3 separate regions of the Homo sapiens genome follow, and regions 2 and 3 are each linked to region 1. The links are contacts of gene promoters, found by promoter capture Hi-C in blood cells and fetal thymus (Javierre and others, 2016). All regions are on one chromosome and are shown on one strand. Each heading gives the region's core, a stretch centred on a gene start or on the middle of the fragment in contact. The rest is flanking DNA. Distances are from core to core; before and after follow the strand shown. Region 1 holds the start of TTC21B (tetratricopeptide repeat domain 21B). Region 2 holds the start of B3GALT1 (beta-1,3-galactosyltransferase 1). Region 3 holds the start of COBLL1 (cordon-bleu WH2 repeat protein like 1).

Region 1 (5,078 bases), core at 837-3,336:
TACCCAGGCACTGGGCTAGCTACTATGAATAGAAAAATGAGTAAGACATGGTTCCTGTCCCCCCGGAAAACCTACATTTTTCAGATGAGACTGTAATCTGAAGACTAACTGAAATATAATGTAGTAAATGTAAGAAAAGAGCTTATAAACTCCTTTGGGAATGTGGGATAGCAACATTTTGACAGCATTGAAAACTGAATGTGGTGTGAGGGGAGGATGGATGACTAAAATCAAGGGAAAGATTATTGGGGAGGATTTCAGAGCTGACTCTTGAATTGCAAACCCCTCATTCTCCCTCCACACACGTACACGCTCTTCCTATTTCCTTTTCATGATTCTTGAGGAAGGTACAGGAGTTAGGAAGAGGAACTGCAACAACACAGATAACAAGTCATCAATGGTACATTGGGATGGCAGTGGTGATGAAGATGACTAAAAGCCACTCCATACTCTAGAGCAGGGTTTGGCAAACCACACTCTGTGGGCCATATCTGGCTGGCTGGCTGTACAGCCAGTGAACTAAGAATGGTTTTTATATTTTCCAGCTGTCAAGGAAAAAAAAGAAATATTTCATAACATGAAAATTACATGAAAGTCAAATTTCAGTGTTCATAAATAAAGTTTTATTGAAACACAGCCATGCTCATTTAAGTATTGTCTATGGCTGTTTTGAACAAGCCAATTAGATGTGATAGACCATACGGTCCATAAAGTCTAAAATGTGTACTATCTGGCCCTTTGTTGAGAAAGTTTGCTATTCTCTGCTCTGGAGGCTTAAGTGAGACAGAGAGTATTGGATGATGAGGTTGGAGACGAAGGTGGGGTGAAAAGCCTCATATTAAGTACTTGGACTTGAACCTCAAGTCTAAGTAATGAGGAGGCCCATTTTTACATTTTACATTAAAGTGTTTTTATTAAAATGTTCATTTGGGTGGCAGTGCAAATAATACATTTAAGGGAATAAAAAAATGTAAGGATATAGGGGGATAGCTAGAACAGAGGATAATGTAAAACTTCAGGCAGAAAAACAAGACATTTCAGCATTCCCTAACCTCCTACATCGCCAAATTGTCCTCCATCCACTTATCACCATCTCACAGGATACACATTTCATTTACCTACTTGTTGTCTGACTCCTCCTACTCAAATGTAAGCTCCAAGATTGGAAGAGTTTTTCTTGGTTTTATTATTTCAGTGCTTAGAACAGTGCTAGACACATAGGAGGCATTCAGTAAATATTTGTTGAGTCAACTGAATTAGGGTTTTTCCCCAGCATTAATTAGCCTGTAAAATCTGAGAAGGCAGAAACTGTTCAGTTTTGCTCACTGCTATCTCCAGCTTCTAATGGACATACAGTAACCCTTCATAAATATTTGCTGAACGAGTGATTCAGTGAACAAATGAATAGAGAAGACCAACATCCGAAAAGTTATTTTATTTTCAAGCCTCATGTCTTTAACTGTTTTATATCAGCCTTTCTTAAGTTGACCGTCATTAATATTTGCTGAATGAATGAGTCAGTGATAAACAGAGAAGACCATCACCCTAAAATAACGACCCCTCCACTTTTAAGTCTTACGTCTTTAATGGGTTTCATATAATCTTTCTGCGCTCTTTTTACTGTCCAGTGTGGGAGCTGACACTAGTTTGCCTTAAGTCCTTAAAAATCGCACCCGGAGGCGCAGTGTCATAGGTAACCCAAGCTTTCCTAGTAAACATGATACAAAAGTAAACACAACCAACAGCATGGGGACCAGCAATTCAGAAACACCGAGCGGGCGGGCTGCCCAGACCTGGGCTTCCCCAGCAGGGCCCGCGGAGACCGGCCGTGAGCAGAGGCTGCAGGCCCACCCCGCAACCCGAGCAGCCGGGGCACCGCAGGGAAACAGCGGCCTAGCGAAGCCACCCGAGCTCCCTCCGCGCCCCCGGGCCAAAAGGCCGCAAAGGAACTCCGCCCGCCCGCCCGCTCACCCGCTCACCCGCTCACCCGCTCACCTTCAATTCCTGCGAGTCCATGGCTGCCCCGAGGCCGGGCCGCGGGGCTCTGGGGATTGTCTCGCCGCAGCCTAAAGGAAGACGCAGAATTCAGCTCCCCTAGCCTCCCGGAGCGCTCTAGCGCCCCGGGCCCCAGCGGGAGGGGCGGGGTCGCGCCGCGATTGGCTGTCGGAGGGAGAGGCGGGCCTGTGTGGCGGGGATCGTGCTGTAATGGAGCAGGGGCGGCGGGGACCCGGAGGTGAGGGCTGCGAGGGCCGCCCGGGAGGGTCCGGGCTGGGAAAAGGGCCTCCGCCGGAGAGTGCAGCTGGAAAAGGAGGTCACACTGGGAAACGGCTGTCTGAGGACAGTGGGTGGGCGGGCCGAGGAAATGGAATTCAGGAATAAAGGAAACGGAGTATGAAGAAGGGGAAGTCTGTTTCCTGTCACTGGTTGTAAAGGAAGACACCATTTTCTGCACGTTTGTCTGGAGGCGGATTCCCGCAGTGCGGCTCTCAGCAAGGCTCTGCCGGCGCGGGAAAAAGCGGTCAACTTTCACGTGGGCAAGTTGTTTTACGGCCACAAGGTGGCGCAGAAAAAAAAAATCACACGTTCTTAACAGAAATACGGTGCGCTTGGGCCCGTCTTTGCAGGCGTTGCTGCAATCTTTGTTAGAATGTGTGTTCAATTAGCCCTTTTTTACCAGCCCCGATAATAAGAGGGACAAATAAATTAAACTTCCAGAAAATTAGTGTCTTGTTTTCAATGATACTACTGATTTTAAACTGAGAATAAAATGAATCCCAATGCAAATTTTTATGTTTGCACCCCATTAGGCAACTCAATCAGTCACACATAGATTTCTTAAGTCCAGGAAATTAAATGGAAATATAATAGACTAAGATTTTCTATTTCTGCTTAAATAAATATTTAAAATAGTGCATAAGGTCTGAGATTTAAGTGATCTTTGCAGAATCTTTCACGTGGATTCCAAATTTTGATCCTAGTGTTAATTATCTTACTTTAGTTGACATGATACGTAGTTGCCTTTTCCAGATTTTAAGTTTCTTAAGGAGTTTATAAACATTGACTTTTTCCCCATGCCAATAGGTTATGTAAGGACAGTCTTGAGAAAAACGGTAGCTACCATCCTAGGCTTTAAGGTGAAGCAATATTTCTCACCGGTTTCTCTTTAAAGGAATTCACCACGTATTTTCACGAGCAACTTTTTTTTCTTTCCAATATTTATAGTCCAGCTAAATGTCTGTGGTGATGAACAACTGGTGATATCTCTTTGATTTTCAAAGCTGCGGATTAATCCGCACTTGGTATACAGCAAAGAATACCACAGGACCAGGGTGCTCAATGAAGTGTATAATCTTGAACTGTAAACCTTTGGTTATAAGAGAAAAGTTCATCTGTAAGGAAATATCTCAGGATCATGGTTAACAGAACAGATGATCAACCTACCTTTTGGAGATCTTGAAAGTCATATTAATTTAGCCTCGTATTCTCTTCACTGAATTCTGTTCTAAGGTTGAATTATTTAGCACAAAACACCAAGCCTGATGTTTCATAAATGTTTGTTGGATTAAAAGTACTCTGAGATTTGCTTTGACACTCACGGTGACTTGGTGTGCCCTGTGCCCTTACTAGATCTCATGTAAGAAATTTATTTTGGATCTCAGGCCAGGAAAAACTCTTGTCTTTCCTGAAAAATCGATGTGTTCCTTAGCAGTAACATTTTTATCGGCTCACTTTTACTAGCTACAAACTTTTGAGTCTGATATCCATGACCCTTCACCTCATCGTCTTTTCAAGCCTTATCTTCTACCTCCCCTTCAAGGAGCCTTTATTCCGCTCAGTGGGACAAATATTCCTTCTTCTGGTAATGCTTTCCCCTACTTTGTTTTGAGCTCTTTCTTCACCTGAGAAAATCTCCTTCTTCTGAGTTCATTTCAAATTTCATGAAGTCTTTAAGGATCACCATAACTGGATGGGTATAAAAATATCACAGTGTAGTGGCAAGAATACCCTCTTCTGCATCTGAGGTGGAGCTCCTATTACGCTAGCTACTTTTGTGACTTGGGGAAGTAATTTCCCTAAGCCTCATTTTCCTTATTTACTAAAGAAACTAAATGCCTTACAGACATATTAAAACTTCCTGACACATAATAGGCATTGTATAACCAATAGTTTCCATTAAACACGTAGTGCTCTATAGCAGTGGTCCCCAATCATTTTGGCACCAGGGACCAGTTTGGTGGAAGACAATTCACAGAAGATAAATTTTCCATGGACAGGGGTAGGGGAGATGGTTTCGGGTTGAAACTATTCCATCTCAGATCATCAGATTCTTATCTAAGGAGCATACAGCCTAGATCCTTCACATGCACAGTTTATAATGGGGTTTGCATTCGTATGAGAATCTAATGCCTCGCTGATCTGACAAGGAGGTGGAGCTTGGGGTAACGCTCCCTTTCCTGCCCCGCAGCTCACCTCCTGCTGTGTACCCCGTCCTGCTGTATACCCCATCCTGCTGTGTAGCACTGATTTGCAGTCCTCAGATTGGGGACCCCTGCTCTATAAGACTTATTACACTTGCATAGTCCTTGTATTACTAGTTATAGTGCATTTTTGTTTAATGTTCTCTACCAGATGATGAGCACTATAAAGCTAGATAATATAATGTAGCAGTTAACATCTTCGTCTCCAGAAATACGTCATTTTCGTTCAGACCTTAATGTGTCCGGAATTGGTGGGTTCTTGGTCTTGCTGACTTCAAGAATAAAGCCGCGGACCCTCGCGGTGAGTGTTACAGTTCATAAACGCACGCAGACCCAAAGAGTGAGCAGCAACAAGATTTATTGCAAACAGCAAAAGAACAAACCTTCCACAGAGTGGAAGAGGACCCCAGTAGAGTGCCCCTGCTAGCTCAGGTGGCCTGCATTTATTCCCTTATCCGGCCCCACCCACATCCTACTGATTGGTCTGCTTTACAGAGAGCTAATTGGGCTGTTTTACAGAGAGCTGATTGGTCCGTTTTGACAGGATGCTGATTGGTGTGTTTACAAACCTTGAGCTAGACACAGAGTGCTGACTGGTAA
Region 2 (5,078 bases), core at 1,037-3,536, 1.3 Mb after region 1:
ATATATGGAGTTTTTAAAGAGTAAGGTAAGTGAAGAAAAGGGTGATTATTATTGCAAACAAAAAGGATCCCTTAAAAATACAATTAGCAAGAAGAGCTTCAGCATCATAGCTAAGACACATTGAATTCCAGCAATTTGTCAACTATGTAGCTGATATACACACTTGATTTTTGACCCTCACAACAACGTTGTGAGGTGGGTATGACTATTTATCAGAGGGTCACTTTGGGAAGGTCCCAAGCTTATTACAACCTTCATGTACAACTTTTTTTTTTTTTTTTACTAGAACATTGTAATATAAACTTATTGGTAGAACTCTGAGCCATTCAGACATATTTGTACTAAAGAAACTAAAAATGTTCCATAAGGGAAGATCATTACAATTTAGGGGAGAGTGGTGCAGAAAAACATTTTGTGGCTTTTGTTTTCTTTTTCTTTTATTGCTAAATAACATTACTTCGCTAGTGTTTGAGTCAAACACACATTAAAAAAAACTATTAGAACATTCAGACTTGATTATCCAAAGAAAAAGGAAAAAAAGGAAGCCAACCAATTAGGGTGGCTGCTTAAATTATCTTTCCCCATTCTCAAGGTTTTTTGTTTGTTTGTTTGTTGCGTTTGGGGTGGGGAGGTGAGGGGCGTTTATTTGGAGGGAAGACGGGGAAGGTCCACTCTGCCTACAACTCCGACATTTCTCCGTGTGCCTCTTTGCTAGCTGGGGACACTTCGTGGCTGATTACTATGAGGAGTGGTTCGAAGCCTAAGAAGTAGTACTCTTTTCAGCTGCCAAAGGGAGAAGGACGGGGGCGCTGTCTGGTGACTGTTCGCGTGATTCCTTCAAGGCGGCGACCACCTCCTGGGATTCGCTCTCCAGCCGCGCCGTTCGTACTCGGGTCCCGCGACCCCTCCCCGCTCCCCCCTCGCCCCAGCGATGCCAAGACGCTGAACCGCAGGGACGAGGCTCTGGGGACAAAGTCACCCCGCGGCGCCCTTTCCTGCCAAGCCGCGGGCTCCTGGCGGTCAGAAAGCGCCCCAGGCCCACCCCTGCGGGCCCGGCTTTCCCTCCTCACCTAAGGCTCCGGGGCCACGAGTCCCCCATCCTGCGCCCCTCCCGCGCCTCCCCCATCCCAAACCCCAGCAGCGTCGCTGCCTCTCCCGGAAACAAGCCCGCTGAGCAAAGGCGGAGGAAAACCTTGGGCCTTCCGCTCTGATTGGTCTCCCCCCGCCGAGCGGGGCGAGGCAGCGATTGGCTGCCGGGCGTTGTCAGTCGCCGAGGCCAGAGCCATCGCCGGGGAAGCGCAGCCGGGCTCGGGTGCTTCGGCTGCCGCCGCGGCTGCTCGGCTAGTGCAGCTGGGCGAGCTCGCGCGGGCGCCGCCGCCGCCTCTGCTGCTGCCCACCCCGCCGCGCCGCCGGCGCTGCCGGTCTTGCAGGCGGCCGCCGGGGAGGGGCGGCCGAGAGAGCGGAGCACGAGGAGGCGGGGGCGGCAGAGAAGTGATGCTGGCGCCGGGGATCGGGGCAGCGGCAGCGGAGCAGCAGCATCTTCGGGACCCTGGCTGCAGCGTCCCTGTGGCCCGCGCGCCAGCCCAGCGGCCGGAGACCACGCGCCCCGCGGGTAAGGTTCTGTCCGGCAGCGCCCGCGACGCCCCCGGGACGGCTGGCGTGGTCTTTGGGGGTTACGAGGCGCGTGGTGGCCGGGGCATCCCGACGAAGGTGTTGGGACCCGGACTGCGTGTCCCGACGCTGGGCTGTGCTACTGCCCGCGCCCGTGCGGCTCCAGCTGGTGCGTTCTCCCTTCCGCGCTCACAGACTTTGACAGCGCGGGGATGGCATTGTGTGAGTGTGGATGTGGATGCGTGTGTGCGCGCGCGCGGCTTGGGGCACTTTGCAGCGAGAACAGTGGGTCCCCTCTGCGTGGCCCGACGTCCTTCAAGGACCCAAGCTGGGCTGGAGTGAGTAGGATGCTGTTGGCTCGGCGGGAGGTAGAACGCACGGAGCGCACGGGAAAGTCCACCGTGGCTCGTAAAGAGCCGAGCAAATTGAACTTTATTGCGGTGATTAAAAGGAGCTGTGGACCTGGCGCGCCAGGGGAGAGGCGCGTTCCACGAGGCTCCCCAAAGTCCCACTTTGCCCCGGGGACTTCGGAGGGGAAGGGAAGAGAGGGAAAAGTAACTGTTGGTCCACATTGCTGAAGAAAAGGAGGAAAGAGAAGTTGGGGGTGGGGGTGGGGGTGGAGGTTACTCTTGGGGGAGTGGCGACTTTTAGGTGTCTGAAGCCCCGCGTGGGAGGCTTGCTACACTTTTCTGGAGCGCAGACTTGAGGATGGAGAGTCCCACTCTGAGGTACTGGTAGCGGCTCCTCCTGCCTGGTGGCGGCGTAGGGCGCAGCGGGACAGCTTGGTGGAGGCAGAGCGGGGCTCCGACGCCCGACGGCCCGGCGTCCAGGTGGGGCCACTGCCTCCCCAGGCCGCTTTGGCCCGCTGACCTCCCAGGTTGAGACCCGGCCTGGTGCGCCTCTGGCAGCTGCCAAATGCCTGGCGGCTCCGCTTTCCGACAAAGTTCAGGCCCGCTGGGGTCTGGTCCATCAGACCTAGGACACGTTAACCACGCAGAGTAACCAGGTTAGGGTACCCAGCTGCCTCCAGAGCGTTTTTGTTTCATATTAGATTATCTTATTTGATAAAGCTGTTGAGAGTTCCACCCGTGCTGCAAAGCCTTCCGCAGAAGGCGAATTCTTTGCGCTGCTGCAAATGGATGGTGCTACTGGGCCAGATCCGAATCTCCGTAGTTCAGTGCAGTGGGTTCTCCATCCCTGCTCAGGACGCACAAACTTACTCTTGGCGATTGTTTTCTATGTGGCTCCTTGTCTCCGTGGGAGTATCTGCTTAGGAAAGTTCTTGAAATACCTCAATACTAAGGAGCTCTCCCCACTGTCTCAGATGGGGCGAGGCTCCGGTACTTGACTGGCGTTGGGGTTGCAGCAGGGAATGGAGGTGGAACATCAGCTCCCTGCCTGCCAGCTTTGGTAAAACAAAAATTGGCTCAATACAGGGAGGCGGATCTTGAACTGGGGACAGCATTTTTCTTGTTATGTAGCTCCGTAATCTCTTTCACTAGAGGGATCTTTTGTCCCAAAACAAAACAAATCACAACACAACAAAAATACCCAAAACCAAACCGCAGAAACCACTTTGATTGGGCTCATTTCTGATTTGGTAAACCAGAGAAAATGAAAGTAAGGCACGTAATAGAAATGCTATAGAAAATCAGGAGGGAGCTGTCCAAATATGTCAGGCATTTTTCGATAGTTATTTTTCATTGTAAAGATTCTATTTTCTCCCAATTTAACAACTAAGTTATTTTAAAGCAGATGAATAACTTACGATAAACTAGTAGTGATGTTAGTTTTGGGTCCAAGGATGGTCTCATGGTTTTCATCACTTAATTGTTGTGCTGTAAATGGATTTTTTTATTATGATTTTAGTCACACATACTGCATTTGGACTAGTAAAAAATTGGTGCTAAGTATTTTCTTCTTAGCATTCATCATGTCTGGCTTAAAAGTGTGGTTTTCTGATATGATTAAAGAAAGTATATAGTTTGTGGTGGTTGTTCTATACAAAATTTACCTGCTTCCAGGTGATTAATATTGCAATATTTTAGTTATTGAAACCTTCAGGACTTTGTTAAGGTTACTAAAACAGGCTAAGCAGTTTATGTTAGTTTTGTGTTTCTTTTATGCAATACTATGTGCTGGTAAAACTTTTTGTTTTCCTCATAGGTTAATATGGGGGAAATAGGATTAAAGTGTGTTATACTTATTAATTAACAATTTTAAAATAAACTTCAATTAAAACTAAGCTATCAGTAACAGCCAGTACTAAAAATGGAACTTCTAAGGAAAATTTTAACGACTTGGCTAAGAAAGTGCTTTTTCACCTTGACATCAAGTAACATTTTATATATCCACTGCATTATGTATTGGAGTAAGCCACAAGTCTTAAAATGGAATTAAGAGCCTTTGTGCTCATTTTAAGGTTGTGTGTGTACGTGTGTGTGTGTGTGTGTGTGTGTGTGTGTGTGTATGGAACTTTTACTTGGAGGAAATCTTTTTTTAGATAATTTTAAAACGAGTAGGACAAATATAATCAAGTACAGAGAATTGTGTCAATGGTCATAAATATTAGGATAAGGCCATAGGAAATATGTTTAAGCATAAACAAATGATGCAGAGTTGGGGTTGGGGGTGGGCACAGGCTTTAGGGAGCTAATGGGTAGTGCCAGCCACTTAATTTATACAAGCAGTTCAAATTGTACCATTTCTGCGAATGTACTTAAGCTTTAACTTGTTTTGCTTCAGGGCAGCCCATGAGCTTAGACTGCCATATATTCTAGATGAATTTTAGTAATACAAGTAATGTCAACTTGTGAAGACCCTAGGCCACTAAATTCACTTCTTGACTTGTACAAAATTTTAATTTTAATACTCATCGGATAACTTTTCTAAGAAGATCACATCAATATGAATAGCAATGCTAATAGATACAATTATTTTATGAAATAAAACTTATTTAATTTGTCAGATAGTCACGATTAGTGTTTGTACGTGAATAGGTAAGAAAGTGAGGTTTATAGCGATTTGTTTTAATTAATAGTGAAATCATTCTTTTTCTAAAACTAACAATGTTAGGGGAATTAAAAACTTCAACTGGTTAGTAAATCAGAAGTTCATTCTCATTTTTTCTTTGTCTCTTTCAGTCTGTCTCTTTCTTTCGCTCTCTCTCACCACACAAAAACACATGCATACTAGAAAGGTTCTCAGAAGGAATTTCGCCATGCTGCATTTGAAACAAATTGACTAATCTATTCTGAATGATGAATGTGCATCATAAAGGAATATTCTCGTTCTCTTTACTAATCTATTATTATGATACTGGTTTATTCAAATAACATTTAACAAATTGTACTGTGTTCCTACTATGTGCAAAATACTGTTCTGTTTGCTTTGACTGTGTGAATGAATACATACACTATTGTATGAATTCAATGAATACTTGTATGAGTAAATCACACAAAGATCCC
Region 3 (5,078 bases), core at 678-3,177, 1.1 Mb before region 1:
GCGTGGAGGACAGTCAGTGAGTCAGGCCGCCGGCAGGGCAGCGAGTTGCCAGCCAGGTGAAACGGCCGAGGCCTCGCTGTCCTCGCCGGCCTCGCCCTCCCCGGTGAGAGGCGGCGCGGCGCTCTGGGCTTACCTGGCTGGGGCGTCCTGCGGGCGCGGGGTTCGGCCGTCCATCGCCCTGCGGGGCGCTGCGCGGGCTCCAGCTCCCAGGCGGCGCGTCACTGCTGGGGTGGGAGAGGCCGGCGGGTCAGGGCGGGACGCGCGCCTTCCCGAGGCCGGAGCGAAGCTGGCTGAGCGTCAAGAGCCCGCCCGAGCCGCTCCAGCCCCGGCCGGCCCGCCTCCCGGGTGCGCTTCCACCTGCGGGCCCCGGCTCCCAGCCCGCGGGCGCCGCCGCCGTCTCTACAAGGTCTAGCGGGCGCCCAGAGCACGGCGGAGGAGGCGGTGGCGCTGCAGCCCCCGCCCCGTGGGGTTTACTGGGTAGCCATTTGGCGCCTCTCGGAGGGAGAGGAGCCGCCGGGGCTGGAAAAGGAGGAGGAGCGGGGCCGGGCGCACGGGCACCGCTGCCACGCCGGCAGCGCACTCCCAGGCTCCTCCGGCCGAGTTTGCACAAACAAAACGCCCTAGGAAAACTTTTCCCGAAGAGAAGTTGGGAGGGCTGATCTCTCTTTTCCCACCCAAGGCTCCTACGTTCTTTTCCAAAGGAGACAGTAGCTCGCCTGTTCTCCCTCGCGGCTTCCTCTCCTACTCTTCCCTTCCCCGGCCCGCGCTCTTGCCGCTCGGCTCTCAAGCCAGGACTTGAATGGAGAAGCGGCAACCCCTGCGAGGCTCAGCCCAGCGCGGGCAGGGCCGACTCAGCACCTCCCCTGTCCCGCGGGCGGGGTGCGGGCGCTGGCTGGGCGCTGGGGGCCTCGCTGGAGCCCGCTCTCTCACTCACCCTGCCCCATTTCCCTGCCCGGAGTCCGGGAGCTCGCCGCCGCCTCTGCAGCACGGCCGCACATAAGTGGGGACCAGCTCGGCGGCATTGGAGCGAGGGAAGCAGCGAGCCGGAGAGAGGAACGGGGCGGGGGTGGGCCGGGAGCAAGTTGGAATTTCCTTCCCCCAGGGCTTCGGGTCTTTGGGGTCCGGCTGGGGAAGCTGAACCGAAAGAAAGCTCCCAGACGAGGTGTTCCCATTCCCACCGCTAGGCTGCGCTTCGGGAAGGCTGGTGCGCCTGAACCGGACAGGTGCGGGGGAAGGGAGGTTACCTGCCTTGCCAGGATCCGCGGGGAGGATTGGGGCCTCCGCGGAATGCGGTCAGAAACTCGCAGAGTGGGGCCTGCAGCTTGCCCCCCCTAGAGTCCGACCCTCGACGTCCAGGATCGTTTTTTTAAATTTGTGTTTTTAACTTGACCTTTAAGATTGCCATTCTTTTAAAAGCGCACCTGTGACACAGATCTTTCTAATTGGTGGCAGGTTTAAGCTTGCCCTGTCTTCAGAGGCATTTTTTGTAAAAGCCTATAACAGCTCTGACATGAGAACTGGACAACAGTATGTCTAATGACAGTCTATAAACTAAGAATTAAGTAATAGATTGTATTCACTTATTGGAACTTTTACAAGGGTAAAGGAATCAGACACAGCTGTGTGCTTGTTTGTACGTTTTAGTATCCACGTGCATGCCCTTTAGATGATTCTTTACACCTGACAGACAGGTACTAGGTTGGTGCAAAAGTAACTGCGGTTTTTGCCATTTTTTTTTTTTTTAAAAAGTAATGACAAAACCGCAATTACTTTTGCACCACCCTAATATATTTACATATTTTATATTTTTCATAAGCGCCAATTGTTTTAAGATGCGCGCCATTCTGATGGGCCCAAAAATGTGTTTTCAGAAAACAACGTGACATTAAGAAATGAATTTAAAATTAGAGTTTTAAAAACATATTTGGATTAAACTGATGGAGAGATCTTACAGGAAGGAACATCCTGCAGGGGACTTCTGTTGTAGCACTAACATCAAGTAATAAACCTGTGTTAGCCACTGATAGAATAACATTTGGCAGGTATTACAATTAAATTGATATTAATGCTCCTTTAGTTGGTTATCCATTGCAGCAACAAAAAAAGATTGCTGAACTAAATGCCTAGCAATGTGCCATTTGTCTACCACACGCAGGCATTGGTATTTATTTCTTTCAGTGCATAATGTCCTTTCAGTGCATCTTAAATATGAAAAGAAAAAAACACATGGCTCATTTGGATTACAATACTGGAACCATATTAGAAAAAGTTGCTTTTAGAGATTTTAACTAAGAGTAAAGCAATTTATTTAAATACCTCTGGGTTTTAGTCTTTAAACAATAACTCTGTTTAAACAATTTCATGAATCATTTATGCTTCTGAATACAGAGCTGTGCAAGCTTTTACAGTTGCTTGCACAGACAATGATGCAAATATTGAGTAACAGTGAAACTACTTGAAAGTCCATAACTTTCAATCACAAGACAAGATTAAATCTTTAATTAGTTTCAGCCTTAATTTATGACATACTAGTAATATTATGGACCCTAATACCAGTAAGATTAGGCTAATCTTAGTCATAAAACATTCATAACATTTCGTAACCACTGAAGGCATTTTCAGTGCTTACCACTTTTTGCTGTCCTCCTTCTGGTCCTAGGGAGAACTATATGCTCCACCCCATGGAAATTAGGTATGACCCTGTGACTTTGATAAGTGGAAATGTGAACAGACATGAAATGCTTTATTTCCTGGTGAAATTACTGCCAGTGTTTGAGTCTCTATGTTCCCTTCCTTTGCTACTGCAATCATGAAAGCATGTATTAAAATGAAGGTGACACAAGACTGGAATGCTAAACTATTACCCAGAGCACAGCTGCCCTGGAGAGTCCCAGGACCTACAACAGAATCCACATAAGCAAGAAATAAGCTCATGTTGGGCAAAACCACTTAAGAGCACCACCAAGCTTGGTGGTCTTCACATAATGGTACTAAGCTATCCTCACTGTAGCCAGTGATTAGCAAAATAATAATCACAGATTTGCTATAAATCTTTTTTTTTTTTTTTTTTTTTTTTTTGGAGAAGGAGTCTTGTTCCTGTTGCCCAGGCTGGAGTGCAGTGATGCGATCTCGGCTCACTGCAACCTCCATCTCTGGGGTTCAAGTGATTCTCCTGCCTCAGCCTCCCGAGTAGCTGGGATTACAGGTGACCACCACCACGCCTGGCTAATTTTTATATTTTTAGTAGAGACAAGGTTTCACCATGTTGGCCAGGCTGGTCTCGAACTCCTGGCCTCAGGTGATCTGCCCACCACAGCCTCCCAAAGTGCTGGAATTACAGGCATAAGCCACCATGCCTGGCTGCTATAAATCTTTTCACATAACAGGAGAAAACTGCTGTTTTCCAATCTTTCTAGTTATGCAGAGCTGTTTCAAAATTGCCCACGTTTCCAAGATTGCGCTCAATTTCCCCGTTTGGGAATCTCCCCCTCATTTCACCACCCAGCCGATCATTTTAAGTGCCTAAGCATAGGTATTATCCCCTCAGGAATACTTCCCTCATTGCAGAAATAGAAGTAGCCCTTCCCTTTCTTGGCCCCCAGTAGGTTCTGTTAGGTAGGGCAAGGACCCATGACACTTTGTTTCAGTTATTCATTTACATAATGCAGAGTTGGAGGGGTTTATTCTCTTTTTTTTTTTTTTTTGAGACAGAGTCTCACTGTCACCCAGGCTGGACTGCAGTGGCATGATCTTGGCTCACTGTAACCTCCACCACCCAGGATCAAGTGATTCTCCTGCCTCAGCCTCCCGAATAGCTGGGACTACAGGCATGTGCCACGTGCCCGGCTAATTTTTTATATTTTTAGCAGAGATGGGGTTTTACCATGTTGGCCAGGCTGGTCTTGAACTCCTGACCTTGTGATCCGCCTGCCTCGGCCTCCCAAAGTGCTGGGATTATAGGCGTGAGCCACAGTGCCCAGCCTACTCTTAAAGGACCACGTCTTATCCTTTGTCTCCTGAAAGCATAGCCCAGAACACAGGAGACTCTCCACCAGTATTTGTGTACTGAATAAAGGAATGAAGGAAACCTTCAGGCCTTCCCTCCTCAGAAGAATCCTAAAAGGAACTTGATTCAGGGAAAGACTTCAACTCAAAGGGGCTGGTAGGCCATTTTAAATGGAACAGATGGAAGGTGAGTTTGTCTTACTAGAGAAAGAAGACTTATTCTTCACGTGGTTACCTAATGGGGTTAGTACCAAAATCAATGGGTAGAATGAAGCTAAATGAAGGTCCACTTAGCTATATATCTCTCTGAATAATAATCTAGGTTTCATATTCCTCCTGGATAGTAATAAATGGAAAGGAGGTTTACATGCTTAATAAATACCTGTGTGCTTATATAAAAAGCAGATAGGCATGTTAAAGTGGGCCATAATGGTTGGAGTTTGTCTAAAATTTTTGTAAACTATTTGGAATAATGAAAACATTTTTAAATGCTTATTTTAAGTATGTTTTTATTCCACTATAAGTACCACTTGAAAAGCTTTATTTAAAACTGAAAAATTACACTTAAAAGATGGTTAATATCTTTCTGTGCATTTCACCTTTGCACATTACAACCTAAAGGAAGTGTTTATTTTATGTCTTCTTAGATTGTGTACATGTGTGTGTTTGTGGTTTTATATAACAAGATCAGAGTTGTTACATTTCAGTTTTAATAAAAGTCTTATTTCAGACTTTGTATTTCATAGAAACTGCCCAATCTCAGAAAATATGTTATGTTATTTATGCATAAGACTTTGTTGATGAAAACAGGGAGCTGAAAGTCAGAATTGTAGCTTTATTCTCAATTCAGTAATATATGCATAATAGTTAATTATCCATTCATCTCTGTGTAGTGCTTTCATAATTTGAGTATTCCTACATGTATTAACACATAGAAAGTGTTGTTAGAATTTGATGTTCCCTATATAAATGCTTCATGAGAGCTTTATTTCAAAGTACCAAAAATATTTTCTTTGGCTGTCAGGAATCCTGGGCCAGGTTTTGTAATTAGCCACTGCTGTCTTTATCACGGG

What was found. Contacts are between HindIII fragments. The CHiCAGO score rates a contact against its expected background, and 5 or more counts as called.
Region 2: a fragment that was not itself captured here is called in contact with the fragment with the promoter of TTC21B in region 1 in 1 of 17 cell types (fetal thymus); the score reaches 6.4 in fetal thymus.
Region 3: a contact is called between a fragment that was not itself captured here and the fragment with the promoter of TTC21B in region 1, in 1 of 17 cell types (fetal thymus). The highest score is 6.2, in fetal thymus.

What each region holds. Positions count from the first base shown.
Region 1 is chr2:165,951,690-165,956,767 of GRCh38, forward strand. TTC21B (tetratricopeptide repeat domain 21B) reads right to left here and starts at 2,087. Exons shown (of 29, transcript NM_024753.5): 1 at 1,996-2,087. The coding sequence starts at 2,016. RefSeq lists a silencer at 1,938-2,337 and an enhancer at 2,102-2,851. The HindIII fragment of the contact is 9,565 bases long and covers 1,702-5,078 here.
Region 2 is chr2:167,291,723-167,296,800 of GRCh38, forward strand. It overlaps B3GALT1 (beta-1,3-galactosyltransferase 1), which reads left to right and starts at 1,279. Exons shown (of 5, transcript NM_020981.4): 1 at 1,279-1,612. RefSeq lists enhancers at 545-1,158, 2,387-2,999 and a silencer at 1,394-1,443. The HindIII fragment of the contact is 4,094 bases long and covers 240-4,333 here.
Region 3 is chr2:164,841,023-164,846,100 of GRCh38, forward strand. COBLL1 (cordon-bleu WH2 repeat protein like 1) reads right to left here and starts at 801. Exons shown (of 14, transcript NM_001365672.2): 1 at 688-801; 2 at 134-224. The coding sequence starts at 174. All of the region lies in intron 1 of LOC101929633 (a long non-coding RNA gene), which reads left to right. RefSeq lists a silencer at 775-984. The HindIII fragment of the contact is 940 bases long and covers 1,458-2,397 here.